Linked DNA regions of Homo sapiens: regions 2, 3, 4, 5 and 6 are each linked to region 1. The links are contacts of gene promoters, found by promoter capture Hi-C in blood cells and fetal thymus (Javierre and others, 2016). All regions are on one chromosome and are shown on one strand. Each heading gives the region's core, a stretch centred on a gene start or on the middle of the fragment in contact. The rest is flanking DNA. Distances are from core to core; before and after follow the strand shown. Region 1 holds the start of CAMK1 (calcium/calmodulin dependent protein kinase I). Region 2 overlaps VHL (von Hippel-Lindau tumor suppressor). Region 3 overlaps SETD5 (SET domain containing 5). Region 4 overlaps LHFPL4 (LHFPL tetraspan subfamily member 4). Region 5 holds the start of TATDN2 (TatD DNase domain containing 2). Region 6 overlaps FANCD2 (FA complementation group D2).

Region 1 (4,128 bases), core at 241-2,740:
CTGCTGAGGTCTGTCTCATCCAGCAGGAGAGGGTGGGAGTTCTCTCCCATTTATCAGATGAAGAATGGGGAGACTGAGGTTGGAGTTAGGTAGAGGCTGGCTCCAGAGGCCCTAATGACACCTGGCCTGGGGCCCCCAGCTAAGCTTGCTGAGGGCAAAGGCCATCGAATGGCCTTGGCTGGTACTTCCAATATGAAGCCAGAATGGGCCCCATTCAGAGAACACAGCCTCCCAACCCATCCACAGATGAGGCCAAAACAGAGCCCAGCATGCTTTGTGACCTCAGGGAGAGCACTTTCCTTCTCTCTTTTTCTCTAAGGGAGAATGAGGAGAAGGTGCCCTGACTAGGGCCTCTGGTGTGAGATTCCACTCCTGGAACAGGACCTTTTTCCCAGGGGACCCTGCCCACCCATCCAGGGGCAGAATCTTCTAGGAAAGGAGACTCGAGTGTAAGCTCTAGAGGCAGAGTCTGAAACCCACATGGAGGCCTACCAAATACAACCCTCACAGATCCACACACATCCCTGTAGCAGACATGCCACACCAAGCCCCCTCCACAGCCCTGAACTCAAACACCTGCCTCCCAGATCCAGTACGCCTTGTATCCACATCCCGTGACACCTGATCATACATGTACTCCCAGACATCAGCACACATGTCCACACCACACAGTGCCCCAGACAGCCCTGCACCCGAACACCTGCCTGTCCATCCAAACATCCCTCACCCAGCTCCCTCTTACACCCCAAAACACACATCCACCCGCACCCACACAAGATGACACCCAGACACACACACACACACCCTCATATACCAGACGTACCCTACACCCTCCAGCTCCTCTACCCCATCCCCTGGAAGCTCCTGTATTCCAAACCAAACCCCAAGTCCTTACACACCTAACTCCAAACATCCTCAGTACACAATTGTACACCCCCTCCTAACTCTGACTTAAGACCCTGAGAGCCAAATACCAGCACACAAAACACGTGGACACCCCTCTGGAACAAAAAACACACAGATTCCCAGATCCTCCACCCATGTCTGACCCACACGCCTGTCCTAAGACAGTACACTCCGCAAGCCCCCCCACCCCATGGATACCTCCAAATGCCCACGCCCTTCCAGTCAGGCCCAGCTGAAGGCGCTCACACAGGCCCCCTTCTCTATTACCCACTCAGTGTCCCATAGGCCCGCCTGGCACCTGCTGGGCCTGGGACAGAGGTGGAGAAAGGCCCAGCCCTGCCCCTCAGGGTCCAGCCCGCCCGGGAGAGTGCCCAGTGGCCACTCCTTGGGAAAGGATACCCAGAGGCTAGGGGCTCCCACCGCCCCCACGCAGCGCCCAGGGGTGCAGGGATGGGGGGCCCGGCTGTACCTGCGGCTGCCCCGCCGCGGGGCTGGCTGGGAGGCCCGCGGTGGTTGGCGCCGAGCTGTGGCCGCGGTCCTCACCGCTGCGTGCCTGGGCCACCCGCCCGCGCTCTTGCTGGAGCTGGGGCTCGGCTCGGCTCGGCGGCTCTCTCCGCCCGCCTGCGGCTCTGATGTCAGTGGAGGTGGAGCCTGCGGCGGAGGGACCCGGGATTGGGAGGCGAGGCACCGCTCCAAGGCTGGGGAAGGGGCACGGGTGGAGGCCATCTCCCTGCTTCTGGTCAGAGATCTCCTGCTGGACGCTTCCCGCCCTTGGTCTTAAGCGGGGTCCATTTCACAGAGGGGACAACTGAGGCCCGGAGAGATGATTTTCAAATCAGCGGGTGGTCGGAAGCAAAGCAGGATTCGAACCCCGTCTGTCTGAAGCTAGAGGCCGGCCAAACTCACCCTGTGGCCTGGTGGATTTTCTTTCAGACCAGTTCTGCGACCTCCCTTAGGGCTCTGTCTCCCTTCTCCGTGCCCTGAAGGGAAACAGGCCCTGGAACTGCACGGGAGTCTGGTGGGGGATGGGGGAGTGAGGGAGTGGGGAAGGACCGGGCAAGACTAGGCAATGAAGAGAGTGGAGGTGGTCGCAGGGTGTGGGCCCCACTTGACAGGTGGGAAGACTGAGGCCCCGGTTCCTCTGCAAGATGGAGCTGAGGCTTCAGCCCCAGACACTTGCTCCTCAGAGCGGGTGGTGGTGCCTAGAGGTATTGGGGGCAGAGGGAATTGGGGAGGAGGAAGTTAAATCGGGATCCTGAAGGAAACAGGCCAAAAAGGACCGAGGTGTCACGTGACTGGCGGGGCTCCAGAGTTTGATGGCTGGGGTCCAGGTTAGGGGAGAGAGCCTGCAACTAGGACGGCAGGCAAGAGGCCAAAGGTCGGTTTGCTCAAGGCCTTCCTTGGGAAGAAATTTGGTGCCGAGTGGAAAGAGGGGGCGGGGGGAGCAACTCGCAGGAATTGGGGATGGGGCTGAACTGGGGGCAGCCGGAGGAGGCACGTTGCTTGGGACCCCACTCCACCTCCAAGGGCCTCCAAGTGCCACTCCCTACTCCTGAATTCTTGCATGTTCCAGCTGGTGATGGGGAGAGAACAGTGCTTATGCCCAGCTCATTTCCTTTTTCTCTTTCTTTCTTTCTTTTTTCTTTCTTTCTCTTCTTCTTTTTTTCTTTTTCTTTTTTTTTTAAGACAGGGTCTTGCTCTGTCACCCAGGCTGGAGTGCAATGGCATGATCACGGCCCACTGCAGCCTCAAACTCCTGGGCTCAAGTCATCTTCCTACCTCAGCCTCCCATGTAGATGGGACTACAGGTGCGTGCCACCACACCTGGCTTTTTTATTTTTTGTAGAGATGGGGATCTCACTATATTGCCCAGGCTGGTCTCAAACTCCTGGGCTCAAGCAATCCTCCCCAATCAGCTTCCCAAGGTTCTGGAATTACAGGCATGAGCCACTGCACCTGGCCAATTTATTATGCCCATCTTACAGATGAGAGAGGAAGATAGCTGAGGTTCCTGGAAAGGCTTTGGAGTCTAACTGATCCTGGTCATGCTTTACCTCTCCGAACCTCAGTTTCTTACTCGGGAACATGGGAATATTGAAGATTGACTCAGAGTTCTGAGAATTCTATGATATAATGATATGAAGTGCCTAGAACACTATTCAAAACATGAGAGCTAGACTCAGTGTAAACTGAGACTCAGAGAGAGGACTTGATTTGGCCAGGGATGAGGGGTTAAGGGATCCATCTTCCAAATCTCAGTATCTCAGACTCCTTAGTTCATGGAAAAATACATTTCCTGCTCAGGGCTGAGCCCCCACTCTCCCCTATACCCACCAAGCACACCCACTGAGCTAGGGGTTCTTTTACCACAAATTCCTGTTCATCTTGATGACAACACCCCCTGGGTGATAAGATGACCTCTGTCCTTTCGAGGACTTGTACAACTTCTTTTTTTTTTTTTTTTTTTTTTTTTTGAGACAGTCTCCCTCTGTTGCCCAGGCTGGAGTGCAATGGTGCCATCTCGCCTCACTGCAACCTCCGCCTCCTGGGTTCAAGCAATTCTCCTGCCTCAGCCTCCCAAGTATCTGGGACTACAGGCGTGAACCAACACGCCCAACTAATTTTTGTATTTTTAGTAGAGATGGGGGTTTCACCATGTTGGTCAGGCTGGTCTCGAACTCCTGACCTCAGGTGATCCACCTGCCTCAGCCTCCCAAAGTGCTGGAATTACAGGCATGAGCTACCGCGCCCAGCTGACTTGTACAGCTTCTATGGTGTGCTTTACATTTTTCCTGCTTTTGAGCATTTCTGAGAGGCCTCGTGTTTTCTTTTCTTTAACAAACACATTATCTTTACTTTCTTAGTATTTCTATTGAACAAGTGATACATGGTCATTGCAGGAAAATTCCATAATGTATTGAAAACACACACAGACTAACTGATGAGATTCTTTCGCTTCCCAAGTGACAGAATGCCAACCTAAACCAGCTTCATCCAAGAGGAATCTATAGTTCACAATAGCTGGCACAAGATTGCAGGAAAAACACCAGAGATTAGGGGCTTGGAGACTGGAACTGGAGATGTAGTACTCATAGGATTTGCTTTCTCTGTCTTCCCTCCTCTCTCCTTGTCTTGATTTTTCTTCACACGTTGGCCTCTTTTTCTCTCCAGAGTGAACTTCTAGTTGGCAGGAAACATGGAGTGAGGCAGCCCCAGCTTTCC
Region 2 (2,801 bases), core at 302-2,801, 380 kb after region 1:
ATCAAGCTCACAGTGCCAATCAGAGGTGTTTTTTTTTTTTTTATTTTTATTTTTAGAGAGTCTCACAGTGTCATCCAGGCTGGAGTGCAGTGGTGCGATTTCAGCTCACTGCAACCTCTGCATCCTGGGTTCAAGTGATTCTCCTGCCTCAGCCTCCTGGGTAGCTGGGGTTATAGGTGCCTGTCACCACACCTGGCTAATTTTTGTATTTTTAGTAGAGATGAGGTTTCACCATGTTGGCCAGGCTGATCTTGAACTCCTGACCTCAGGTGATCTGCCCACCTCAGCCTCCCAAAGTGCTGGGATTACAGGCGTGAGCCACTGCGTCCAGCCTGTTTTTTTTTTTTTTTAAATCATTGAAGATTGGTATAATACTTCACTATTTGTTTGAAGCTCAAATGATTTTATCAGGGTAAACCCTAATAAACTGATGTTCCTGTGGGTAAAAAAAACCTCACTAAAGACCAGCAGTGTGTGGTGGCTCCTGCCTGTAATCATGCCTGTAATTCCAGCACTTAGGGAGGCTATGGCGGGAGGGTCGCTTGAGACCAGGAGTTCTTGACCAGCCTGGACAACAAAGTGAGACCCCAGCTCCACAAAAAAATTTTTTTTTAATTACCTGGGCATCTTAGCATATGCCTGTGGTCACAGCTATTTGGGAGGCTTAGGTGGGAGGATCCCTTGAGCCCAGGAGTTTGAGGCTGCAGTGAGCCATGATCATACCACTGCACTCCAGCCCAGGTGACAGAGTGAGATCCTGTCTCAAAAAAAGAAAAAAAAAACTCAAAAACCCCCCAAATACATGGGTTTCATAGGATTCAAACTACTATGTGTGTATAGATCCTGTTTTAAGGAAGTAGATATATAAAAATGAGCATTGCTAAGTTAAATTTGGTAAATTTGCCTTATAGAATACCCTCGAGTACGTTTCCAGTGAGTGTAAAATAGGAATTGGGATACCCAATTCAGTTGTACTAGATTTTCTTTTTTTTTTTTTTTTTGAGACGGAGTCTCGCTCTGTCGCCCAGGCTGGAGTGCAGTGGCGGGATCTCGGCTCACTGCAAGCTCCGCCTCCCGGGTTCACGCCATTCTCCTGCCTCAGCCTCCCAAGTAGCTGGGACTACAGGCGCCCGCCACTACGCCCGGCTAATTTTTTGTATTTTTAGTAGAGACGGGGTTTCACCGTTTTAGCCGGGATGGTCTCGATCTCCTGACCTCGTGATCCGCCCGCCTCGGCCTCCCAAAGTGCTGGGATTACAGGCGTGAGCCACCGCGCCCGGCCTAGATTTTCTAAGTACACATTGTTTTGGTTATGTGTTTTGTGACTACCACCCCAAAACTAATAACCACCTTTTTTTTTTTTTTGAGACAGAGTCTCACTGTGTCACCCAGGCTGGAGTGCAGTGGCGTGTGATCTTGGCTCACTGCAACCTCTGCCTCTCGGGTTCAAGCGATTCTCCTGCTTCAGCAGCTGGGACTACAGGTGTGCACCACCAAGCCTGGCTAATTTTTTGCATTTTAGTGGAGACGGGGGTTTCACCATGTTGACCAGGCTGATCTTGAACTCTTGAGCTCAGGCAGTCTGCCTGCCTCAGCCTCCTAAAGTGCTAGGATTACAGGCGTGAGCCACTGCGCCCAGCCCACCATTTTATTTGTTCATAATTCTGTAGTCCAGGCTGGGCTCAGCTAGGCAGTTACTCTGCTGGTGGTAGTCGTTGGTGTGGCTGCCTTTTGCTGGCAGCTGGGGGCTGGGCCTGTCCCTCTTTTTTTTTTTTCTCTTTTCTTTTTTCTTTTTTTTCAAGATAGGGTCTCACTCTGTCACCCAGGTTGGAGTGCAGTGGCATGATCTTAGCTCACTGCAACCTCTGCCTCCAGGGCTCAAGTGATCCTCCCACCTCAGCCTCCCCAGTCGCTGGGACCACAGGCATGTGCCACCATGCCTGGCTAATTTTTTGTGTATTTTGTAGAGACGGGGTTTCGCCATGTTGCCAGGCTGGTCTCGAACTCCTGAGCTCAGGCGATCTACTGACGTTGGCCTCCCAAAGTGTTGGGATCACAGGCATGAACCACCATGCCTGGCCAGGGCCTGTTCCTCTTTATGTGGTCTCTCTAGCAGGGTAGCTCAGGGCTTTCAAAAGTATAAAAGCAGAAGTCAGCAGGCCTTTTTAAGGCTTCGGCCTAGAATTGCCAGTGTCGCTTCATCCACATTCAGTTAGTTAAAGCAATCACAAGCCCAGCCCATTTCAAGGTGAAATTACTACAGAGGCATGAACACCATGAGGTGTCCATAGGGGGCCATCAGCATAACACACTGCCACATACATGCACTCACTTTTTTTCTTTAACCTAAAGTGAGATCCATCAGTAGTACAGGTAGTTGTTGGCAAAGCCTCTTGTTCGTTCCTTGTACTGAGACCCTAGTCTGCCACTGAGGATTTGGTTTTTGCCCTTCCAGTGTATACTCTGAAAGAGCGATGCCTCCAGGTTGTCCGGAGCCTAGTCAAGCCTGAGAATTACAGGAGACTGGACATCGTCAGGTCGCTCTACGAAGATCTGGAAGACCACCCAAATGTGCAGAAAGACCTGGAGCGGCTGACACAGGAGCGCATTGCACATCAACGGATGGGAGATTGAAGATTTCTGTTGAAACTTACACTGTTTCATCTCAGCTTTTGATGGTACTGATGAGTCTTGATCTAGATACAGGACTGGTTCCTTCCTTAGTTTCAAAGTGTCTCATTCTCAGAGTAAAATAGGCACCATTGCTTAAAAGAAAGTTAACTGACTTCACTAGGCATTGT
Region 3 (3,788 bases), core at 1,135-3,634, 300 kb before region 1:
AAATGTGGAATTATGAAAATTAGAAGGAGGCCGGGCGCAGTGGCTCACACCTATAATCCCATCACTTTGGGAGGCTGAGGCAGGCGGATCACGAGGTCAGTAGATCAAGACCATCCTGGCTAACGTGGTGAAACCCCGTCTCTACTAAAAATACAAAATATTAGCCGGGCGTGGTAGTGGGCGCCTGTAGTCCCAGCTACTCGGGAGGCTGAGGCAGGAGAATGGCGTGAACCCGGGAGGCGGAGCTTGCAGTGAGCCGAGATCGCGCCATTGCACTCCAGCCTGGGCAACAGAGCAAGACTCCGTCTCAAAAAAAAAAAAAAAAAAAAAAGAAAATCAGAAGGTAAGTCACTTTGCAAAACAAGCGGGTTCAGTACTCAGTGTGTTCCTTATCCCTTGTAGCATTTGGGATAACTATTAAACACTGCAAATATAAAGTGGTTTTGGTTTTGTTTTGTTTTGTTTTTTTTAATTGGTGATCATTTTAATAATACAGTCCATGCATAATGTTAGAATACCAGGAGGGAAGGAAAATATTAAATAGTAAAAGGTCCAAGGCATGGTTTCACTTGCAATTTAAGGAAATTTTACCTTTCTCATCAATAATAGAACAGATTTCACCACCCTGACCCATTCTAATCACCATTTTAATGGCCATACTCTTTGCTGTATTCTAGTACAGAGAGGTGGGGAGCCTTTTTTGTAGCAAAGGCTGTGACACATTGTGAAATATCAAAAAGGTGTCACGTATAAAGACCAGCTTAGGCTGGGCATGGTGGCTCACACCTGTAATCACAGTGCTTTGGAAGGCTGAGGCAGGAGGATTGCTTGAGGCCAGGGGTTTGAGACCAGCCTGGGTAACATCGTGAGACCACATTTCTGCAAAAATAAAATACAAAACTTAGCCAGGTGTAGTGGCATATACCTGTAGTCCCAGCTACTTGGGAGGCTGAAGCAGGAAGATCACTTAAGACCAGGAGTTTAAGACTGCAGTGAGCCATTATTGTGCCACTACATGCCAGCCTGGGCAACAGTGAGATCCCATCTCTAAAAATAATTTAAAGACCAGCTTAGGCCAGGTACAGTGGCACACACCTGTAATCCCAGCTACTCGGGAGGCCAAGGCAAAGGAATTGCTTGAGCCTGGGAGGTTGCAGGGAGCCAAGACTGCGCCACTGCATTCCACATTCCAGCCTGGGCAACAGAGGGAGACTCTCTCTCAAAAAAAAAAAAAAAAAAAAAAAAACAACCTTACTAGATTAGTTTGGGGAAGGATATTTTTGAGAAGGAAAAAAGCATTCAGGAAAATGGTGAGAAGTCTTAAGTGCTAAGGGGAAGAAGGTAAGAAGATAAACAGTGGAAGAGAACAAGATCTTCAGGAGGGGAAAGCATCTAGAAAGAAGAGTGGAAGCAACATTGGGAGGACAAGCTTAGTTAGCCTCTCCTTTCTACCAGAATAACCCTCCCCTCCTATTCTTGCCCTGAGAGCCATACTCCACCCGCCATTTCACACATACGTGCACCTAGATGTACACCACCCACTGTCCATGCCAAGTAAAATTCACAGCCAAAACCCTGCTTTGCTGAAGCAGCCTCATTTCCCCTACCTCAGCATGTGCCTGCCACCTAGGCCACAGTTATTCAGAGTCTACATTAGGCACCCTCTCCTTACCTCAGCCCTAGCACCCCTGAGTCATTGTCACACTACCACCTTCACTCTCTTCACGTGTTCCCATTTACATCTTTCCATTAAGCACTCACTGCTCAGTCTCTGTTATGGGACTGCTGCCTCACCTGAAAGTCCCAAGGTAAAGTCCTACCCTCTGTAGGATACAGGGACCTAAGTATACACATACATGCTTTTTCTGCTCTGTTGCCAAAAGTACAATGGATTTTACAAAATAACATTAATAGGGGTGGCTCAGGTCTAATTAGATTATGCCAAGAACCAACTCTAGCCTGTGAGCTAGGGATTCCATCAATCACATTTCCTGTAACTGTCATTCAAGAGGAACTGGCCATCTCCCTAACCATGTCAGCCCCCAGCACACTAATGTCTCCCCCTGGATAGCACTGGGAGGGCCTGAGGCATATAAGAGAATAAAGAAATGTGACAAGCAGAAGAGGCATTGGATGAAGGAACAAGGTCCATGTAAGGAGGAATAAGGGGTAGGGTGCCCCTCAATAACAAATACTGTAGGTTGCTAAACTCTCATCTAAAATACAAAGACGTATAACACTAAAATTTCACCAGTCTAACTCTTTCCTTGTATGTGCTTGAGATGTTTACTTACAGCATGAAACATTATAACCAATTTATCCTTAAATGCTTTCAGAGATACCAGGAAGCATTTTAACAAGTCATTCTGTCCATTGAGATGAGTTCTGCAGTTAAATATTTCCCCTATGCATTCTTATTCAACTTCCCCGCCCCCGAAAAAAGTTATGGCTAACATCTATGCTTGCTTTTATTTTTTGTTTTGTTTTGCTTCTTGACTTCGAGTAGATGAATAATAACAAGATGCTTTTCCCTCCTCTAGAACATATCCTCCCCTGAGAGTTCCCCTGCGCATAGGCCCGAGTCCCTGTCACCCGAGGTAGTTATCACACCATCTCAATCACACTTGGAGGCTGAGAGTGAGTGTTCATGAATGTGTTCCTGAGTGTGTGGGGAGGGCTGGGGATCTGAGTCAGTGGGGTGATGGGCTGGAGGGCGGCCACTCAGTCACAGTAAGTTGAATGAGTCTTCCTGTGTGACTGTGACTACACAGGACTGTCAATGTAGATGGAGGAAAATGAAGGTAGGAGCGTGTGTGTTTGTGTGTGTGTGTGTTGTGTGTGTGTTTGGTGGGGTTGGTTTTTGCCGTTTGGGGGAGGGGGTGGCTGGAGTTCTATTAAAGAATAGAATCTAGAAGTCAAGATGCTGATATGTGGTAGGAGCCTTGTTAAAGAAAGGCTAATAAATCAGGAAAGTTGAGTCAAAAGTTGTAAGAGCTGTTTTTTGAGTTGGGTGGTGACTTATGCCTTGTTCTAGGGTTAATCTAACAGCTCTGTAAACCAGATGTTTTGACCTTTGGTTGATAGATTGAGCAGCTTCTTCAGGAAGGGAAAGTCATTCTGTCTTTCAGCTTTCCTACATTTTCTCTGCAGCTCCTTACTGGGTGCACAAGGAAACCAAGTGAGTCCCTGGCTTTCTGTCACAGGCCACCATTCTGCAATGGTTAGGATATGGTTGCTATACAAGTGTTATCTCTTTAGGATATCAGTAGAGTGGTTTTCTCACAAACCCTACTGCTGTGGATATGTCAAACTCAGATTTTAGTGCTAGAGTTTCTATTATAAGCTTTCAGATTTAGTAACATTAACTCTGAATCTATTAATACATGGGACCTTTTTTCTCTTGAAGAGAAAGTTAGAGTCTCTCAGAAATAGTCAACTGAACTTTAACCCTATCCCCTTCCAATAAAAAATTAGGGCATAATTCAGTGACAGTCTACTAAGTTCTGAATCAGTAGTAGTTCACAGGTTAATATGAAACTGAAAAAGGTTTTATTCCACTAGTATATTAGAGATTTTCTTGGTGTTTTGACTCTAGCTTGTTAGGAAAGTAAAGCTCTCTCTCCTCAGTTGTTAAAGATTCTAAGATAACGTAATTTGAAGACTGATATGGTATGGTATCTGGTTTTCTGGTACCATTCTTTGTCGGTTAGCTGTAGTTGACCTAGTGTTGGAAGTTTGGAGGTTATGATAACCAAATAGTAGGTGGGGTTTATTTTTGGTACATTTCA
Region 4 (3,945 bases), core at 195-2,694, 270 kb before region 1:
CCATCTCAAAAAAAAAAAGAGATAGCCAGGCATGGTGGTGCCTATGGTCCCAGCTACCTGGGAGAATGAGGTGGGAGGATTGCTTGAGCCTGGGAGTTGAGGCTACAGTGAACTGTGATCTCACCACTGCACTCCAGCCTGGGTGACAGAGCAAGACCCTGTCTCAAAAAAATAAAAATAAATTATGCAGGCCAGGTGCAGTGGCTTATGCCTGCAATCCCAGCACTTTGGGAGGCTGAGGCGGGTGGATCACTTGAGACCCGGAGTTTGAGACCAGCCTGGCCAACATGGTGAAATCCCATGTCTACTAAAAATACAAAAATTAGCCGGGTGTGGTGGTGCACACCTGTAATCTCAGCTACTCAGGAGGCTGAGGCAGGAGAATCACTTGAATCAGGGAGGCTGAGGTTGCAGTGAGCTGAGATTGTGCCACTGCACTGCAGCCTGGGCAACAGAGGGAGACTCCATCTCAAAATAAATAAATAAAACAAATGATGCAGTCTCAGGTATGGCTTTATAACAATGCAGAAATGGGCTAACAGTCTACCCCTAATCCAGCCCCCTAATGCTACCACCAGAGTGCTCTTTCTAAAATGCAAATTGAGTCATTTTTCCTTCTGCTTCAAATCCTTCAGTGGTTCCCCATTGCTCTTAAGTCCAAACTCCTGTCCATGGCCCCCAAGCTTTCTCATGGTCTGGCCCTCGCCTGTCTCTCTAGACTCATCTCTGACTCCTCCCTGCCTCGTACTTCACATTTCAAACTAAGTTGCTTTTCGTCCTCCATACACAGTTCTGCTGCCTACCTCAGTCTTTTTCCTCAAGCTGCCTTCTCTTTGACCTTCCTGACCCCTCCTGCCTAACTTCTCATCCTACAGCAAGACCTCCTCCTACGCTGCCCACGTCACCAAAAGCCATTTAAAGTATTCCTGCCTAGGATACCCACAATACCCTGCATGTGGCAAGTCATGCGTTATTTTCACATGTTCATCTCCCCAACCAGAATTATGCTTAAGACAGCATCTCTGTTTTGCTCATTTTTTTTCTAGCTTAAGTGCTTAGCATACACTAAGTGCTTAAAATGTGTTGGAAGAGGACTCCATTTCCAAGTCTTCAATGTAGCTACCTGGTACTGCGCACATTACAGCGTGCCAGATACCCTGCAGAGCAAAGTGCATATATTCCCTGGTATGTTGCTTACAGCTTCCCTTGGGGGAGTCACTATTGTTTTCTCTATTTATTCAATGGGGCTTTAGAGAGAGGCAAAGTGACTGGACTGAGCACTCTGGCTAGAGCAGATGAGGCTCTACTCTTTTCTGCCTGTATGGACTTGGACAAGTCGTGCCTGTGCTGTCAGAGGTGTGCAGAGATTACTGTATCCCTCTCTCTATTCACTCCTTTCTCCTTTGTATCAGAACCCTATTTTTTTTTTTTTTTGAGACGGAGTCTTGCTCTGTTGCCCAGGCTGGAGTGCAATGGCGCCATCCCACCTCCCTGCGACCTCCGCCTCCTGGGTTCAAGCAATTCTCCTGCCTCAGCCTCCTGAGTATCTGGGATTACAGGCACGCACCACCATGCCTGGCTAATTTTTGTATTTTTAGTAGAGACAGGGTTTTGCCATGTTGACCAGGCTGGTCTCAAACTCCTGACCTCAGGTGATCCACCCACCTCAGCCTCTGAAAATGCTGGGATTACAGGCATGAGCCACCTTGCCCGGCCAAGAACCCCAGTTTTATTTGGGCTGGCAATGCGCCGAGATAACAGACCACACTTTTTCAGCCTCCTTTACTGTTATGTGGCCCAAGTGACACAGTCCTATGGAATTTCCAGAAGTCTTCAAATGAAATGTGGACCAGGTGACTGGAGCTCCAGCAGCCCACGTTGGGCCATGAGGTGTTCTTGAGGATGTAGCCAGGATTGAAAATGGCAGTGCAGAAAGATAGGAGCCTGGGTTCTGGATAACACTGAGAGCCATATCAGCCGTGATCTACCCACCTCCAGGCTTTTTTTTTTTTTTTTTTTTTTTTTAATGTGATGGTAAAATAAACTATCTTGTTAAGCCACAGTAGTAGGGTTCTGTTAATACCAGACAAACCTGATCCATAGGGTTGGAATCTTACCCCTCTTGATCCCAGTGACTCAGAGAAGTGGCAGCCAGCGTGGGTGATAGAAAGTGTTTCTTTATTTGAATGTCATTCCACCTGCACTGAAGCTTAAACCCAGCAGCAGCAGAAGGGGTCAGGACCAAAATAAATGTTACCAAATTAGACAATGAACAGCGAGGACACACTCAGACAAAACTTACTAATGGGGTATAGACAACACCAAGCTATCCTAACAGCACACAGCACAGGCCCTCGGAGGCCTGCCCATCAGAGCTCTGCGGAAGGCTCCCTTGTTCCCTGTTCAGGAAACTCCAGTCCCACCCAAAGGTTAGCCGTGGGCCAGGCAGGGGCCTGCAGAAGTTTCTGGTGCTGGGAACATCCCAGCTTCTCCAAAGACAGGGTTTCCCTTTCTCTTTCTCAGTTCACACTGGAAGCTGGAGAAAGGTTATTCCCCGTGTGCCCAAGCAGGATGCTCAAAAGGCCAGGGACTCTCCCCACAGCCTTATCTAAAAGTTCTCATCATCTTGGCTATCAGGCCTGAAAAGGATCTTGATTCTTTGGTCCTCACCCCCTCAGGAAAGTTTTCCTTCATGGGTACCGGTCCCCAAAGACGAAAGTTTTCATAGCCCCGGTTCCCAGAAGGACTCAACTGACCAGACTGTGGGCCAGGGACTGAACCACCCCTAGGCTGTGGCTGCCGTGGCCTCTCCTGAGTCCCCAGATCAGGCAGAGAAAAGCGGGCAATGGCAGACCCCTGATCACAGTTAGGGGGGTCACAGTTAGGGGGGGACTTCTCTTGGGACCTGAAGCCGGAAGGCTCTAGGTTGGAGCCCAACAAGGCCCTCCTGGGGTCAGAAACAGGCACTGATCTCCTCTGCTTACCTCCTCCTGAAGGCTAAAGCCAGATCGCCCGACGAGAGCAGAGGCAAACCACAAAGCCCCCTTCCCATGATGTCTTTATTGCCCCAGGAGGGCCATCAGGGCCTCACCTGGGGCCCCCACTGGAGCACCTGCCACCTGCCCCATCCACACCTCTGCAGAACCCAGGGCCCCAGTCTATGGTTTGGTCCCCACTCTGACTTCTACCCCTTGCCTGTGTCACCCTGGGGTTCCCGCAGACTTCAGCCCACACAACTCTGCCTTCCTGACTCCAAACTCCCTGGTGCATCTCCCCCTGGCTCTGCCAAGATGGCAGCTGGCCAGGTGCGGTGGAATGGGAATGTTGCCAGGCTACCCCACCAGGGAACTAGCCTCCCTCCTCTCCACCCGGCGCTGACCCACTCCTAAGTCAGCTGGACCCACTACGTCCTCTGAAGTGGCTTCCTTCACTCCAGTTCTTCCCAAAAGGATGCGGCCTTGGCTGCCTGTGCCCCGGGCCTCCAGCCTCTGAAAGGTCAGTTCTATCCCCCGCACCAGGGCACAGGTTTGGTGGGTGTCCTTGGGGAACAAGGTGTGGCAAGGACACCTGGTGGCAGGCGTCCTTGGGGGAACAAGCTCTCCCCTCACCCAGTGCCCAGATAGCAACCCCCTCCCCACTGCCCCGCATCCTGGCTCCTTCATCCTCCTCTCCTTCCTCTGCATCCCATTCTTGCCCCCAACCCACATCTCCATTTACCTCTTCCCCGCTCCCGAGTCCTTTTTCCGCCTTTTCATCCATTTCCCCTCCCCCACCCCAAGCTCTCGGGCAGCCTCTCAGCTGGTCTCTCATCTCTCTCCACCTCTGCCCCGTCTCTCTCGATCTCTCCTCCTCGCGCTGTTTCTCTGTGCCTGTGCGTCCCCCTCGCTCCTTCTCCAATCATCTCTCATCTCCCTGTCTCTGCACCCCTCTTCTCCTCACCCCAGT
Region 5 (3,771 bases), core at 309-2,808, 480 kb after region 1:
TGTTTCACTAGAGACAGGATTTCACCATGTTGCCCACGCTGGTCTCGAACTCTTTGCCTCAAGAGATCCACCCACCTCGGCCTCCCAAAGTGCTGGGATTACAGACGTGTGCCACTGGACCCAGCCTCCTTTGCCAGTCTTAATACTAAGTTATTTTATTATTTTGGGAGAATTGCTACATCGAATATCAGCCCTTTGTCATATGTTTCGAGTATTTTTCTGAATTTGTACCTTGTCTTTGATTTTTTTTCTTTTTTGAGACAGGGTCTTGCTCTGTCCTCCAGGCTGGAGTGCAGTGGCGGGATCACAGCTCACTGCAGCCTCGACCTCCCGGCCTCAAGTGATCCTCCCACCTCAGCCTGAGTAGCTGGCATCACGCCCAGCTAATTTTATTTTTTGTAGAGATGGGGGTCGCACCATGCTGGCCAGGCTGGTCTCTAACTCCCGAGCTCAAGCCATCCTCCCGCCTCGGTCTTCCAAAGTGCTGAGATTGCAGGCGTGAGACACCGTGCCCAGCCGTCTTTAATATTTTTCACCAGGCGGATAGTTCACATTTTTGTGTAGTCTTTTTTTTTTTTTTTTTGGTGCCTTCTAATTCTAATTCTTCCCATTTCTGGGTGTGTACTTAGTCTCTCTGAGCCACAGTTTTCTGCTCTATAAAGTGGGGTGATAATGCTCAGTACACGGTTTGCTTTGGCTCGATGAGAAATCCAGGTCTGAAAGCTTCAGGTACAGCGGCCGGCGCTGAGGAAAACAGCGTTAAGTGAGGCGCGTCAGCGGACACCACCTGCCTGCACATCTGGCTGGCCTCAACTTCCCGCTGTTCGAGCCCACGTGAGTGGCTCCGCCCCATCTGGCTTCTGACCAATGGACGAGCTTCCTAAGGCGTACCGTCCCGACTCCAAGGCGCCTGGCTTTGAGGCGGGCTGCGTCTTGCTCGGAGTCCCGCCCCTTGCCGGGTCGAGCAATGGGCGCCTTCCGTTTGGCGCAGGCCCCGCCCCTGTCGCTCTCCGGCCTGCGGGCCGCAGGGCTCGTTCCGGAGGGCGGGCGCCACGGAGGCCGGAGTGGTCGCAGTTCGGGCGGAGGCCGGGCCAGGCGGGGCTGTAGGGCTGGGGCAGGCGGCGGGCTGCCCGGCGGGACAGCTGCGGCAGCCGGCGGGGGGCGTCCTGAGTTGGCGGTCGAGGGCGCTGCCAGCTCCCGAGGGGCCGCTCGGGCCCCTTCCGGCCCGGGTCTGGTTGGGCCGCAGGAGCAGGGCGGGCTGCGGCGCCCGGGTCTGGCCCTGGCCTACGGGCTAAGCGCCCGGCCCCGGGGCCGCGGATCCGGCAGCCATGTGTGGATCTTGAAGCGCCATGTGGTCTTCTGAAGCGCTTGACAGTTCTAAAGGGCTTTATATTGCAAACTGATCAAAGCGCTTCGTAGCCCCGGAAGCGCTTAGGCATCTCCGAAGTAGCGCTGGGCAAAGTGAAGGCTTCCTGATCTCAGAAGCACGTTGTGGGCTTGGAAACCGACGGCAGCCTTTAGTCAATTTTGGATCGCTTTGACTTCTCCAACACGGTTTGGCATCTCTGAAACCTTGAGAACTGTGATGGGCAGTGGAAAGAAGAGGGAAAGGTCAGTGAGGCTAGCCCCTGGCTCTGCCCTTATGTCTTGCCGTCCTCCTGGGCCCGGGGTGGCGGGAATCTGAGGTGGGGTCGCCAGGAAGGGTGGTGTTGGAATCCAGGCCCCCTGTACCTTGCAGGTGCCCATGGCGTCCGAGCGGGGCAAGGTCAAGCACAACTGGAGCAGCACGTCGGAAGGGTGTCCCCGCAAGCGCAGCTGCCTCCGGGAGCCCTGTGATGTGGCCCCCTCCAGCCGGCCAGCTCAGAGGTCTGCGTCGCGTTCTGGAGGGCCCAGCAGCCCCAAGCGCCTGAAAGCCCAGAAGGAGGACGATGTGGCTTGCTCGCGGAGGTTATCCTGGGGCTCATCCCGCCGCAGAAATAACTCCTCCTCCTCCTTCTCCCCACATTTCTTGGGCCCTGGTGTGGGCGGGGCCGCCTCCAAAGGCTGCCTGATTCGGAACACTCGGGGGTTCCTGTCTTCAGGGGGATCCCCTCTGCGTCCTGCCAACGCCTCTTTGGAAGAAATGGCTTCTCTAGAGGAGGAAGCCTGCAGCCTTAAGGTAGGTGGCTGCCACGCTTTGCAATCGGTGAAGCCCCTTCCACATGGCTTGAGAGGTTGGGGATGGGAATTTTGGTGGAAGGAGACTACAAAACATTACATCCTTGAAGGTCTGGAAGGTCTTTCTAGAAGTCCACTCCCCCCAAACTCGAAGACCTAGCAGTCTTCCAGGCGCGTGGCCTGAAGTTAAGTAGAGAGGTAATTTTCAAACTCGGCAGCACTTTGGAACTACTTGGAAAGCTTTAAAATACTTGGGCCTGCCTCCTACTCCAGAGAAACTGATTTATTGGGCTGAGGTGTGGTCTGGGCTTCCAGATTTTTCAGTGCTCCCCAGGTTATTGTAAACGTGCAGCCCCGTTGGAGAATCACTGCAGTAGAAGGTGGATTATGTGCTCAAGAGAAGAATGTATTTATTTTAGTTGTCAGTTTAAAGAATTGTGTGCCCTTGTACTTTGAACCACTCTGAATCACAGAACCAAGAATTGCGGTTCTTGGTGTAGCTTTTCTCCAAAGTCATAGTTTCCAGCATGTTGGGGTTTTGCTTGGTGGTGCTAGTTTTTTTTTTTTTTCTTTTTTTTTTGGAGGTTAAATTGTTAATTCCCTAATGGAAACATGCAAGAGGGTTTCATAAGTACTTTGAGCAGACCAAGGAGTGCTTCACAGAGAAGATACATTTCGCTCATCTACTCAATCAAGGCTTTGAACAAATATGTGTTGAGGGTTTAGTTTGTGCCAGGCAATGTTCTAGGTGTTTGGGATTCTTTACTAACAAAACAGATCACTTTCCCCTTAGAGTTTGCATCCTAGATTTTGAAGGTCTGAGTCTTAAGAAGTGAGAAGTTCTGCCTGTGGAGGAGTGGAGAAACAGTCTTATTTGGGATCAGATGGGCTGCCTCTAGAGAAAATTACTTTACAAAAGCAATTAAAACAGGCCCTAAGGAATATGTGTTTGTTTTTAAGCCTAGCCTTGGTGGTTTCTTTTGTGTAGCTGAGAAAGGAGGCTGTATTTGACTGTTTGTCTTGGGGACTCATAGGCTAAGTGCCCCTGGTTTTTTCAATGTGGACCTCACTGTCTGAACTCTTGTGTGGGCACGTGGATTTTTTCTTTTTAAATTCACAAATAACAGTGAGTTGAAAAGCCCTGTCTCTAGCGTAGGAATGCTGAATTTGTCTCAAATCAGGTAAGTATGGGACTTTGCTCATACAAGTTAATCTTGCCATTAATCCTTGATACAATTTCAGTAGACTTGGGTACAGCATAAAATAATACCAGTTGATTCAATTTAGCTTCACTGACAATTTGTAGATAGAGTGAAACCTGTTACTGGGAGAGGCAGGAAATTTACTTTACATAGTCTTTCAGGTGTGCTGAATCCCTGGCTGTCCTAAAGACCTGGAACTCAGGTTTGAGGGTGTGGTCTCTAATCTGGGTGGGTCTAATTGTAGGTGGACCCACCTTTCTCTCATTAAGGCTAAAGGGGCCTTGTTTTGCAAGAACCCAATTTAATGGTTTCAGTAGAAGCACTTGAGGGTTATTGTGGGCCACGCACTGTTGGGTCTGGGAGTGATGAGCTTCTAGGGAGCAGTCTGGTGGGAGGGCTGGAGGAGTGGTCG
Region 6 (3,819 bases), core at 1,027-3,526, 260 kb after region 1:
TTTTTGTATTTTTAGTAGAGAAGGGGTTTCACCGTGTTAGTCAGGCTGGTCTCAAACTCCTGACCTCCGGTAATCCACCCACCTCAGCCTCCCAAAGTGCTGGGATATCGGACGTGAGCCACCATGCCTGGCCTCATTATGTCATTCTTAATGCCTTTGCATTCTCATAGCTTAGCTTCTACTGACTTGTGGATTGAAGAGTTATTTCTTACTAGGTTATTGGAAGTTAAGTCTGATTCTTGGTCAATTCAACCGAAATAGATGAAAATGCTTGCTGAACAGTGATTATAATGATAAAAATTGTGAGTCCAAAACCATGTAAGGAATAGGCTTGATTTAGAAACGGAAACTGTGGGCCGGGCACAGTGGCTCACACCTGTAATCCCAGCACTTTGGGAGGCCAAGGCGGGCAGATCACCTGAGGTCAGGAGTTCAAGATCAGCCTGGCCAACATAGTGAAACCCCATCTCTACTAAAAATACAAAAATTAGCTGGGCGTGGTGTCACGTGTCTGTAATCTCAGCTACTCGGGAGGCTGAGGCAGGGGAATTGCTTGAACCCCGGAGGTGGAGGTTGCAGTGAGCTGAGATCACGCCACTGCCCTTCAGCCGGGGCAACAGAGCAAGACTCTTATCTCAAAAAAAAAAGGAAGTTGTGAAGCTCCAATGGTTGATTAGTAATGGGGTTCTAGAATTAGAATATAGAGAAATTGGTAGAAAATTTGAAACTGAAGAGGAATAATATAGGAAATTACTGAAAGTAAATGTTATACTTTGGAAATACTGTTCTCCAAAAGAGAAGAGACTTCTGAATTAAGTTTATTAGAAGGGATTTGGGTTCTCTTGGTCAGTAATGAACAAACTGAAACTTTCATTCTGGTTGTGTTTTACATTTCATTCAGGAAGGTAGTGGTCTTTGTCTCATTCTGATTAAGGCTTTATTAGAAAGAGGGAAAGGAGGCCAGGCACGGTGGCTCACGCCTGTAATCCCAGCACTTTGGGTGGCCAAGGCGGGCAGATCACGAGGTCAGGAGATTGAGACCATCTTGGCTAACATGGTGAAACCCCGTCTCTACTAAAAATACAAAAAATTAGCCGGGCGTGGTGGTGTGCACCTGTAGTCCCAGCTACTGGGAGGCTGAGGCAGGAGAATGGCATGAACCCGGGAGGCGGAGCTTGCAGTGAGCCAAGATCGCGCCACTGCACTCCAGCCTGGGCGACAGAGCAAGACTCCATTTCAAAAAAAAAAAAAAAAGAAAGAGGGAGAGGAATTGAAGAAGGAAAAAACAAAATGGCATCATTAAGGGAGAAGAGTAAATTTTAAACTTGGCTTCAAGTACCTGTTTGTTTCTTGTTTCTTATTTCTTTTTATGGGTTGAAAGTCTTGGGATTAAACCTATCTGAGCATTGTAGTCAAAGATATGATACAAAGAACCTTCCCCATTCTGTCTACCCTTTATTCAGATCATTGAGTCTCAAATTTGGTGTGTATCAGGATTATTATCTGAAGAACATAAAAAATTCGGATTCCTAGGTCCCATTCCCAAGATTTTGACTCAGTAACTCTGGTATATGGCATGGAATATGCCTTTTTTTTCCTTTGAGACAGAGTGTCACTCTGTTGCTCAGGCAGGAGTGAAGTGGCGCGATCTGGGCTCACTGCAACCTCTGCCTCCCGGGTTCAAGTGATTCTCCTCCTCAGCCTCCCGAGTAGTTGGTATTACAGGCGCACGCCACCACACCCAGTTAATTTTGTATTTTTAGTAGAGATGGGGTTTCACCACGTTAGCCAGGCTGGTCTTGAACTCCTGACCTCAGGTAATCAGCCTGCCTCGGCCTCCCAAAGTGCTGGGATTACAGGCGTGAGCCACTGTGCTGGGTCGGAAATATGCATTTTAATAAGCTTCCCAGGGATTCCAGTACAGTGGTTTGCAGGCAACAGCTTGAGAGACACTGGCTAGTTTAGTATTTGGGTGGAAAACATTTCTGTGGGTTATTCTTGTTAGGCACTTATTTGTTTGAATTTATTTTTTTAGAGATGGGGATTTCACTCTGTCACCCAGGCTGGAGTGCAGTGGTAATATCATAGCTCACTATAGCCTCAACCTCCTGGGCTCAAGTTATTCTTCCGCCTTAGCCTCCGAAGTAGCTGGGACTACAGGTGTGCGTCTCCTCACCTAACTAGTTTGTGTGTGGAGGGGGGGAATGGGGGTGAAGGGGGGGAGATGGGGGGGTGGTCTCACTTTGTTGCCCAGGCTGGTCTTGAACTCCTGGCTTCAAGTGATCCTCCTGCCTTGGCCTCCTAATTTGCTGGGATTACCACATGAGCCACCTTGCCTGGCCAGAAATGGCACATTTTGAATTCTTCAAATGAAAATAGGTGAAAATAATTCTATTTGTTTGTTTTGGAAGCCACTATTGCTGAAGACAGTTTATTTCACTACAGCATCAATCCTAGTATAATTTTTAAGGACACATCAGTTTTCCTCTCATGATTATTATTCCTGGGTTTAAGTTTTAATTTTTCCTTTACTATTTGCCATATTCTTGAAAATTTTTCTATTTTCAGAAACCAGGAAGCAACCACTTTCCAAAAAGACAAAGAAATCTCATATTGCTAATGAAGTTGAAGAAAATGACAGCATCTTTGTAAAGCTTCTTAAGATATCAGGAATTATTCTTAAAACGGGAGAGAGTCAGAATCAACTAGGTAATATTTTAATCTAATTTTATTCTCTGGGTTTAATGAAATAGTTCAGGACTGAATCATGGGTTTTCTAAATAGAGAGGCAATGAAGATTAGAAATCAGAGGGCCATCCATCTTGAGACAAAGTTGAAATTGCTTTTTAGAAAATGGTACAGTCAGGCCGGGCGCGGTGGCTCACGTTTATCATCCCAGCACTTTGGGAGGCTCGAGGCAGGCGGATTGCCTGAGCTCAGGAATTTGCGACCGGCCTGGGCAACACGTCTCTACTAAAATATAAAAAATTAGCCGGGCATGGTGGCATGTGCCTGTAGTCCCAGCTGCTTGGGCGCCTGAGTCAGGAGAATTGCTTGAACCCGGGAGGTGAAAGTTGCAGTGAGTCAAGATCGCACCACTGCACTCCAGCCTGGGCGACAAGAGTGAGACTCCATTTCCAAAAAACAAAAATGGAAAAAGAAAATGGTACAGTCTTTGGTCCTCATTACTATGTCTTAAGTAAAGCATTTCTCATCCTTTTATTAGAAAAAATATTATATATTATTTATTTTGTGTTTTCTTATGAAAAAATAAATATCCAGAAAGCAGCTGTATCAGTGTCAGAATAATTTCAGAAGAAAATTTATAAAGCCATATAAGATTCTGTTTTGGGGGAGCAGATTATTCTATCTTGCTAAGGTTATGGCAGGTCTTTTTTAGAACACTTAGTGGCTATCTGCTATCAAAGCTAAGTCTTTTTTTTTTTTTTTTTTTTGAGACGGAGTCTTGCTCTGTCGCCCAGGCTGGAGTGCAGTGGCGCGATCTCTGCTCACTGCAAGCTCCACCTCCCAGGTTCACACCATTCTGCCTCAGCTTCCCAAGTAGCTGGGACTACAGGCGCCCGCCACCATGCCTGACTAATTTTTTGTATTTTTAGTAGAGACGGAGTTTCACCGTGTTAGCCAGGATGGTCTTGATCTCCTGACCTTGTGATCCACCTGCCTCGGCCTCCCAAAGTGCTGGGATTACAGGCATGAGCCACCGCGCCCAGCCAAAGCTAAGTCTTTTATGTGGGTTTAGACACAACCCCATGACTCTGGGCTGGGCACAGTGGCTTATGCCTGTAATCCCAGCACTTG

The links. Contacts are between HindIII fragments. The CHiCAGO score rates a contact against its expected background, and 5 or more counts as called.
Region 2: a contact is called between a fragment that was not itself captured here and the fragment with the promoter of CAMK1 in region 1, in 1 of 17 cell types (monocytes). The highest score is 6.3, in monocytes.
Region 3: a contact is called between a fragment that was not itself captured here and the fragment with the promoter of CAMK1 in region 1, in 1 of 17 cell types (neutrophils). The highest score is 5.4, in neutrophils.
Region 4: a contact is called between a fragment that was not itself captured here and the fragment with the promoter of CAMK1 in region 1, in 2 of 17 cell types (M1 macrophages and M2 macrophages). The highest score is 6.1, in M1 macrophages.
Region 5: a contact is called between a fragment that was not itself captured here and the fragment with the promoter of CAMK1 in region 1, in 9 of 17 cell types (naive B cells, erythroblasts, monocytes and 6 more). The highest score is 8.3, in naive B cells.
Region 6: a fragment that was not itself captured here is called in contact with the fragment with the promoter of CAMK1 in region 1 in 8 of 17 cell types (naive B cells, monocytes, activated CD4 T cells and 5 more); the score reaches 9.9 in naive B cells.

What each region holds. Positions count from the first base shown.
Region 1 is chr3:9,768,457-9,772,584 of GRCh38, forward strand. It overlaps CAMK1 (calcium/calmodulin dependent protein kinase I), which reads right to left and starts at 1,491. Exons shown (of 12, transcript NM_003656.5): 1 at 1,376-1,491. It also overlaps a transcript of OGG1 not described here. RefSeq lists a silencer at 1,262-1,441. The HindIII fragment of the contact is 10,493 bases long and covers 143-4,128 here.
Region 2 is chr3:10,147,332-10,150,132 of GRCh38, forward strand. VHL (von Hippel-Lindau tumor suppressor) reads left to right here. Exons shown (of 3, transcript NM_000551.4): 3 at 2,456-2,801. The coding sequence ends at 2,634. Among named protein-coding and RNA genes, the nearest start is that of VHL, 7.0 kb to the left of the region's middle. The HindIII fragment of the contact is 5,547 bases long and covers 1-2,801 here.
Region 3 is chr3:9,465,979-9,469,766 of GRCh38, forward strand. The region is part of intron 18 of SETD5 (SET domain containing 5); the gene reads left to right. Among named protein-coding and RNA genes, the nearest start is that of SETD5, 70 kb to the left of the region's middle. The HindIII fragment of the contact is 1,914 bases long and covers 1,428-3,341 here.
Region 4 is chr3:9,496,204-9,500,148 of GRCh38, forward strand. It overlaps LHFPL4 (LHFPL tetraspan subfamily member 4), which reads right to left. Exons shown (of 4, transcript NM_198560.3): 4 at 2,158-3,945. Among named protein-coding and RNA genes, the nearest start is that of LHFPL4, 56 kb to the right of the region's middle. The HindIII fragment of the contact is 1,526 bases long and covers 682-2,207 here.
Region 5 is chr3:10,247,457-10,251,227 of GRCh38, forward strand. It overlaps TATDN2 (TatD DNase domain containing 2), which reads left to right and starts at 1,003. Exons shown (of 8, transcript NM_014760.4): 1 at 1,003-1,611; 2 at 1,739-2,158. The coding sequence starts at 1,745. RefSeq lists a silencer at 889-1,318 and an enhancer at 1,571-2,439. The HindIII fragment of the contact is 1,674 bases long and covers 722-2,395 here.
Region 6 is chr3:10,030,264-10,034,082 of GRCh38, forward strand. FANCD2 (FA complementation group D2) reads left to right here. Exons shown (of 44, transcript NM_001018115.3): 3 at 2,569-2,709. Among named protein-coding and RNA genes, the nearest start is that of FANCD2, 5.7 kb to the left of the region's middle. The HindIII fragment of the contact is 752 bases long and covers 1,901-2,652 here.